2 separate regions of the Homo sapiens genome follow, and region 1 is linked to region 2. Evidence: promoter capture Hi-C in 16 types of primary human blood cells and fetal thymus (Javierre and others, 2016). All regions are on one chromosome and are shown on one strand. Each heading gives the region's core, a stretch centred on a gene start or on the middle of the fragment in contact. The rest is flanking DNA. Distances are from core to core; before and after follow the strand shown.

Region 1 (4,407 bases), core at 860-3,359, 260 kb after region 2:
TTGCAGAGTTGTGACCACAAGTAATGGTCCTAGGTTGAAGTATTGAACCAGGATCACCTTTGAGAATCTATTTACTGGTTCACTCCCTGGTCTCATTTACCTGGTTAGATGTGGACTGGCTTGGAAATCTACCTAGGCTCCCTACCCTGGCACTTCTTTCCCTTCACAACAGTGGACTCTCCACTCTTGTCAACGCTTCTTTTATTTGGTACTTATGTCAACAGTTAGAACTCTCACAATCAACCTCAATCTTCAAAACTGCTACTGCCCTGGGAAGCCACTTTATTCCTTCTTTATAACAGGGAACTAAGAGTGCATCTATCTATTCCTTTAAATTTTATCTTGTCTGTTTTCATCCTGTTGGTGAAGATATTTTTTGTTAATTTTAACTCCAACATCAAATATAGTCACAGTATTTTCCAGCTTTATATCACGTGAAAATGTGATCTTCTGGTTCCCATGTCTTCATCCAAGACCTCAATAAAGATGACAGATGGAACAATGGCAGAGACTTGTGGCCCATTACTGGAGACTTGCTTTAAGACTAGCATCCAGGCATTTATTCTGAACTCTGGACAGTTTAATCAGCTGCAACTTTCCCCAAAGTTATCATTAGAAAGCTCACATTCCTCGATTTGCCATCTTCTTAATTGAAGTGGCATCCGTGTCAGCTACTGAGTTAGGTCTGAGCATAAGATAGTAAATAAGGCATAATCACTTCCTAAATTTGCTAAAGTTTTGACCTAGAAAACAGATTTTCACAGGGTTCACCCTAATTCAGTATGGTGTTACAGGTTCTCTGATAGAATTGAATACAGCGACTTGAGGAAATACATATTATGGGAGCCCAGTCTAGTCTTGGGGTAGGTGGTGAAGTGGAGTCATAGGGAGAAGCTTTTCAGAAGCAATAATATCTGTCCTGAGGCCTGAAGGAGGAACAAGAGTTGGGAGGATGGGGGAAAGGGAAAAAGCAGGAGAAATAATGTACCATGGGAATGCTGCTGGAGCTCTGAGAAGATGCAGGTGCATTATGATTCTGGAACAGGTAGCTGCTCAGTATATGCTAATTAAGATGGATTTAACCTTATGACTCCATCAGAAAAAAGGAAGTGAATTAAAAATAATAGATGAATGAGGCTAAAACCCTTTAAGTACCAAAACACCAGAGAAGAAAGCTGTTTCTAGTTCGAGAGAACTCAAGGAAAGAGGCTTTAGAGGAAAAATGAGCTGCTTAGAGTTAAGTAAGGATAGCAAATGACACACTTGATTTCAAATGTGAAATTGCTAAAATAAACCTTATAAGAAAGAATCTCATCAAGAATTTTAAAGAGAGAAGCACCTTCTTTGATGTGATCTATCTGATTTGGTATGTCACATCCAGTGGAGTGAATGCAGTGTGTGAGATGATATCACTTTTGGTTGGAGAGTCCTGTGCAGAATTCAACTCCTCACCTTCACAGCCCAGGCCTTTCCATGCTTCTGAAGTCTGAATACGTGCACTTTGTCCTGCCATTAGATGACTCTATCTATGTCTTAAATTCTCCACAAGAAGTGGTACCATGTTGTGGTGTTGACTATAAAGCTTATCATCAGGGAATCTGGATTTGAGTAGGCCCACCCTACCGCATCCTGTGTTGTGTGTTGTAGCTATTGCAGAATATTGAGGGTTGTTGTCCCCACAACTGTCACACTATTGCTTTTTTTTGTTTTAGCTCTTAGACAGATATGCCACCAAACCCAGAATTAGAAAAGAGTGATGTTTCTAGCTCCTTATTTTCTTTATTTTCCCGTAAGAATTTGCTAAGTGCTCACCAGAGTCTAGATACTATGCTTGTCCCGGGACAACAGGATGAATTAAATAGAATCTTAGAATAATTGTAATGCCTTGTAAATATAGCCACAGTGGCACATACCAGGTAACAAATGGAGAGTATTATTTGCCTGGTCAAAGATGGTGGAAGAGGCACAGTTAGAGGCAGGAATCACGTAGGGACAGAGTTTCAAATTTTGGGCATGAACTCAATGAAGAGACATAAGCAGCCATGTAACCATGCTCCAAACACCACTTCCTACATTACTTCTGGAATGCGCTTTCATTAAGTATGCTGTTTCTTAAAAGCATCTCACTCCTGGGCATTGGGACAAATACATGATTCTTGAATATAATGTGTCTTGATTTATTTCCTATCTTTTCAGCAACAAAAAAGTAATAATTCTATGCTTTTAAAAAACGAGTTTAAGATTATATAGTGGCAGAAAGATTTTTAAAATCCCACCCAGATGAATAGAAATTCCACAATAAAGAGTATATTTAGATAGCAAAACCATTTAGGAGCAAGTTGTTGAATATTAAATGATGCCGAGAAAAGACACATCTGCCTTTGAAGTTTGAAAATATCACTTCATATGCTTTATGGAGCTTAAACTATTTGAATAAAAATGAAATATCTCTTGGCTGGAAAAGATATCCCTGTGGTCTGATATTATTTCCTTAGGACCACAACCGAGAGGGAAAAGGAGGCAACTCGGAAGGCAGTTTTTTTTTCGTCTGTATTTCCTGCTGGGTGAGATGCTGAGAAGAAAACCAGGAAAGAGGATGTGGGGCAAAGTTTTGCTTAAGCGGGGGAACAAAAAGCAAAGCTTAGAGTGTGTGACAAGAATTTTTCTCCAGGAGATTAGTAGTTACATTCTTTGTAATCTCTCTCTGTCTTTCTACGTTTTCTAAACTGTGCAAGTCTCTCCTCAAGGGCAGGATTTAAATTACACAGTTGTTTTTTTTTTTTTAAGAGCAACATTGATTTAGCCTAAGTCTGTTTGGCATAGCTTAAAAATGTTGCTCTGCTAGGACTTTAATGATGACACTGCTGAAATATTTTGCAATACTAGGAGATTATATTCTATACAAATTGGGCATGATTCTAAAATTTCATCGTTTTTGCCAATTTTTATGCCCCAAAGACTCAAAGTCATTTGTCAAATAGTCTTGTATGTCTTACTGCAAAAACTAATTAGAAAACTGTAGTTATTTGGGAATGGCTAAAAAAAAAGAATGTATAACATTTAATGTAATGTCAACAAGTTTTTTTTAGATCTCTCACTGAATATATTTTAGTTTTTTGCTTTACTAATGAAAAATATTTTAACAATAAATCTAAACGTTCTCAGAAAAAGGTCTAACAGCTTTTAGAGAGAAAGCAAACAAAAATGAGTTAGACCTCAAATGAAAAGGTCAAAAGAAACAGGTTTGGTGAAAACATTTATCCATATTAAGTGAGTTTTCATTTAGAGAAATACATTGAGAAATGTTCAAAATGTTTTCTGGGAATTTTTGTTTGTTTCTGAGACAAGGTCTCAGTCTGTGGCCCAGGCTGGAGTAAAGTGGCATGATCGTAGCTCACTATAACCTTAACTCCTAGGCTCAAGCAATGTTCCTGCCTCAACCTCCCAAGTACCTAAAACTGTAGGCACATACCACTGTACTTGGCTAATTTTTAAAATTTATTTTTTGTGAGGTAGGGTCTCCCTCCGTTGGCCAGGCTGGTCTCAAACTCCTGCCCTGGATCCATCCTCCCACTTTGGGCTCCCAAAGTGCTAGGATTACAGGTGTGAGCCACTGTGCCCAGCTGTTTTCTGGGAGTTTCATTAATTCTTGATGTCTTATCAGCAGTCAATTTATTTACAGAGTTGTGCCTTTGGGTCACTTTTGAAAGGCCTGGAAGCTGTTTGCAGATTGGGCTCAGAGTAAGGAAGATTACCAGAACTGGGCCCTGTGTCCTTGCCCATCAGCAGGCACCAGGACTCTGTCCTAACCACTGCTGTCAATGACACCCCCACCTCAGGGGGATTAGGAGTAGAATGGACTTGAGAAGGAAGTTCTAGAAACCCAGCTTCAAATCCCAGTTCTCTACCAAACACACACAGGTGCTCCATCCTAGAGGACTCTGGGAGGTGCCCTTCCTGTCTAATCACTCTTAGCAGCTCCCACAGCCTTCATTTCCTCATCCTCACTCATTCCTTTATAGTTTAAAATCTGGCTGCCACTCTCTGAAATCTTTACTTGAAAGTTGGCCAGGCTTTTTTATTCCTCAAAGCAATAGCCCTCACTATGTCCTTGGGCTCCATGTTGTCCATGGTTGGCAGCATCTCTCCTTCCCACGCTGGACTCCTTCTCTTCCTAAGGCCTGTGGGAAACCTTGCCATCCTCAATTTCTTCCTCCCTCCCACTTCTCCTTTCTTCCTTTTCCTATCCCCTCAGGCAGGCAGTTACTGGAGCTTTGATTCTCAGATCTCTTCTTTCTGGCCTCTTCAACATCAATCTTTACTTCTATCATTACAAATATTGGGTATTGATTGTGAACGGTTCTGAAATTTCTGTCTCCAGTCCCAACTCTCCCTTGATTATTTTAT
Region 2 (4,106 bases), core at 86-2,585:
CTGCCCTTCCTGCCTGCTGTTAGCCTCTCCTCTGGACCAAAACTCCCTTTAAGGGGAAAACCTCCTCTTTGAAGCCCACAAGATACGGTGAGGATTACTGCCTTTTTCTGATTTCCAACGTGGGTTTTTCATTAAGCAAAGAACAATTAGAAAACCCACACATAACATAGGGTATTCAGTAAGTTCAGGAAAGTGTTTTCCACCATCTCTTTGCCCCCATTCCCTCCCCAGCGCTTGGCTCAAGGTCTGGAGCTTGAATCTGCATCGTCTTCCTAGGTGCTTGCCTGAGGTGAGTGGTCAGCGGGTGCTGGCTTGGGGGCAGCTGGCAGGGCGTATGCTGCGGGTAGGAACCCAGGGAACACTGGGCGCCTTAGCTTGGAGCAGCTGGCTCCGAGGAATTGTTCCACGTCTGCACAACTTAAAAATCTGCAGTTTGGGGGCGGGAGGGGGAGCGCGGGGGTGGGTCCCGAAGCGTCCCATTTCTCCTCCTGGCTGTTAACTGAGCGCTCTCGCTCAGTGCAGCGAGGCCAGCGATGCCTTCTGGACCACACGCTGTCCTCGCCGAGGTCCTGGTTTGTTCCTCAACGTCGGCTGAAGGCATCGTCCCCTGACTTCCTCTTCCATTCGTCCTTCCGAAAGGGGACCCGACTGGTTCCTCTTCTACATATGAGGCGCATCTGCTTGGTGCAAATGTCCAAGCACCTCTTCTGACTCGGTGAGTGGAGGAATAAGACAAAGCATCTTGTTCTGCACTGTGCCTGAGTCTTCAGGCAGCGGGACCGATGGCAAACATTGGCAGGAACTGGAGCTATATGTACTCTCCTTCGCACTTTGTTTTAAAACAAGTTTGGGCCTCGCGATTTCCTGAGGAAATCCAGGCAAATTAGCAAAGTGTCGCTTGGGCCGCGACTTTAGAAAGGCGGTTGCCCCAGCCGCCGGGGCCGCGGGGGAGGTCATCTTTTTCCCGCAGGGCCACGGCGCTTCCGGCCCAGGAGGGCGCGCAGGTGGGAGGCGCGGGGCGCGCTCCTGGTCCCACCCGGACAGCGCCTGCCGCTCCGGGGTGACTCTGCACTTGGGCCTGGGCGGGGGCGCGCGGCCGGCAGGGCAGCATCTAGGTCTATGGGTCTGTCCGCCTGTCTGGCGGTCGGAGCCCCGCAGTCCTCAGCCGCCCGCGCCCTCGGCCCGGGGCGCCCGGCTGCGGGCCCGAAGCGAGGGGCTGGCGGAGCTGCGACCAATGGGGCGGCGGCCGAGCGGCGGGCCCCGCCCCGTCCCGTCCGGCCCCGCCCCGCCCGCAGCTCCCGGGAGCCTCGCTCTAGCGGGGCGGGACCGACGGACAGACCGGCCGACGCGGGCCACCCCGCTCTCCTCGCCGCCGCGGCGGCAGGCGCGGGGCCGCGCCGCGAGGCCTGATCCCTGCAGCGCGGGCAGGCGGCGTCGCAGAGCGGAGCTAGCTGGATGCGTCCGGACTCCTGCAGGTACCTGGCTGGCGTCCCCACCTCCCTGCGCGCTCCGGAGACTTCTCCGGGCGACCCTGCAACTTTACCGCGCCTTCCCCCACCTTTTGCTGCCCCAGTCTCCTGTGGTCCAGGTCGCGGGTGCACGACCCCGAGGGTCTACGGCCGCAGAGCACTTTCCGTCCTTCTGGGCGTCTGGCCCGCGGCGCCCGCATCCTCTGGTCCCCAGAGCCCGCCGTCGCTGGAGCCCTAAGGCTCCGCCTGTTGCGTGAACTGCGGGCTGTTGAAGCGGTGGCTGGGTTGATTTGAAAGCCTCGGGGAAGGTATTTAGGATCAGCTTTCGGGGAGTGGGGTGGGCTATGGTCAGGGGGAGGACCACCTGGAGGCGGGAGAATCGATGAGCCGAAGAAAGGCGGCACCTCGCGTAGGGGCATCCCCGGGGCGTTTCCTTGGCCGGGAAGCCGTTCCTTCCCTTCCTCGAGAGGAGGCGCTTTCCTGGCGCTTGTAAATGCTTCCCGGGCCGTCTGCTCCGCCTTCTTTGTCATTCCTCCCCTCCCCTTTGCCCTGCAGCTGTGCTAGGCGCCCCGCGACAGTTGCAGGGAAGAGCGAACCCAGGGCCCTTGCTCTCGTGCAGCGCTGCGCCCTGGGTGGGGACGGCGTGAGGCTTGCAGCGCAGGTGTGGAGTCACTTGCGGACTCTGCGTTTGGATCAGTGGCAGTGGTGGGGAAGGGTCACCCCGGGGTCAGGAACTCCTCTTTTTTTTTTCGCGCCTTTCTGGGTGGCTGCCCGACCTCCTGAGGCACCTTGGCTAGCAAGCGAGCCAGTCTTGCCGGCAGGGGCCGCGGCGAGCCTGGCTGGGCGCCTTTCGCATTGCAGGGCTTGTCCTGCACCCCCAACCCCGCTCTGTCCCTTCTCGTTCATTTGGAGAAAGGAGCACCTTTTGCATTCTTGATGTCTCCCCCCGGTTTTGTCTGGGGAGACCGAGCCGAAAGCTTCACTCGGGTGGCCCGCAGCAGGGGCAGAGGACAGCAAAGAGCTACCTCCACCTGCCAAAATGACCCAGGGGCCCTGGTTTGGTGCCAAGGCGTGAAGTGGGGGGAGGGGCGGTAGGTGTTCCTTACGTTCCTGCCGGAGAGTAGCTTTGTGGTTGGCCCGGAGCCTTCGTTCGGGTTTTTTGTCTTTCACCCTACCCTCTGAAAATACTGGAGCAGATGAGTACAAACAGTTCAGAAGCCTTTCCTGTTTCTTTCCCTGTATTTACTCAAGCGATTTGCGTAACCATTCACTTGGAACTGTGTAAGTCACTCCTAGTTGCCCCCCTTCTTAGACTATTTGCAAATACCTGCCCAGGTAAACAGGAAGCACGCACCTATCTCTTAGCTGAAGGCATATGCCCTCGTGCTTTGTCTTCCCTGCATATCTGGAGCCGAAGAGGTGGCTTTGATTCTCTAGCTGAACTTGGTGTAATGTGCAGGCTCCACTTCTTACCTGGGTGGTGACCTTCTTGAGGAGATTGACTCGTTCAGTATGCATTTCCAACCAGCCCGCCATGGGCCAGGCCCCAGGATGCACTCGGGGACAGACAGCAAATGGATGATATAATTTCTGCACCCAGTCTAGTCTGTTCTTTCTTTCTCACCAGCTTCCCTTCTTCTCTTGTTCTAATATTATGTTTGTCGTTTCTGAACTAGGAATTGTCAATATTGGGATCCGGAGAAGGTCATATGAAGGTGCCATAGAACTCTGAATCCAAAGCATGTTGTGAATATACTAAGGAGACTTGCGGGATCAGTATTAATTGAATCTTTTGTCTGACCCATAATTGCCTGAATAGAGCCATTGATGAATGCAGCTACGCTAAGGTTTTGCTGGTCAAGTGTATGAGGGCAAATTGGGAGGTCAGAAGCAGTCTTTGTTCTGTTCTGAAATATTATAATATTAAAAATCCAAAGCTCTGGAGCTTGAGTTTGCCAGCAAAGCACCAACTGAGTATCATCATCTTCTTTTAAGAAGGAAGGGGGAGAGTGGGAACTGCAGCTCCCTCCTGTCTTCAGTGGGTTTTGCCCTTCACTGTAATTCTTCACAGACGTGCATCCCTCTGTTCTACCACCCATCTCAATCTGCCCTGTGTCTGGCATTTGCCATTGGAATGTGTGTCAGCTTTGAGAGAGTAGGCACCACAGGGTTTTCCTCCTCCTTTTCCTTCTATTTTTTAATAGATAACATTTATTAGCTGCATACTATATATCAGATACTCTGCTAGGCACTTTTCCAGGCATTATCTCATTTAATTCCCATAACAACTGCATGAGGATGTGATGCTTGCTTTCTTCACTGCAGTATTGCTGTGGGAGCCAGCAGTAGATGGAACCCCCCAGGTGCATGTTGAGTCAGATGGGAGGCCAGTGGGAAATGGTGGGCCTGAGGTCTCACTAGGAGGAAGGACGACTCTGCAGGGTATGTTGAAGCAGAGAAGGTGGGTGTGTTTATTGACTCTGCTTATCAGGTGTCAGGAAAGTGCATCTTCCAGAGTGCCACCTGTGTGAAATACCCACAAAGAAACATCATAGAGAAGAGAATAGGATGTGGGGACCCAGTTTCCAGCTGTGATATCTATTTCTTTATGGCTCCTTGACTTGACATGTCATTTTG

The links. The method cuts DNA at HindIII sites, captures the fragments that hold promoters and counts their contacts. A CHiCAGO score of 5 or more calls a contact.
Region 1: a contact is called between a fragment that was not itself captured here and the fragment with the promoter of KCNS3 in region 2, in 1 of 17 cell types (megakaryocytes). The highest score is 5.8, in megakaryocytes.

The regions. Positions count from the first base shown.
Region 1 is chr2:18,134,468-18,138,874 of GRCh38, forward strand. No RefSeq gene overlaps it. Among named protein-coding and RNA genes, the nearest start is that of KCNS3, 260 kb to the left of the region's middle. The HindIII fragment of the contact is 1,058 bases long and covers 1,581-2,638 here.
Region 2 is chr2:17,877,332-17,881,437 of GRCh38, forward strand. It overlaps KCNS3 (potassium voltage-gated channel modifier subfamily S member 3), which reads left to right and starts at 1,336. Exons shown (of 3, transcript NM_002252.5): 1 at 1,336-1,475. RefSeq lists silencers at 947-1,106, 1,117-1,316, 1,407-1,456. The HindIII fragment of the contact is 4,070 bases long and covers 1-2,444 here.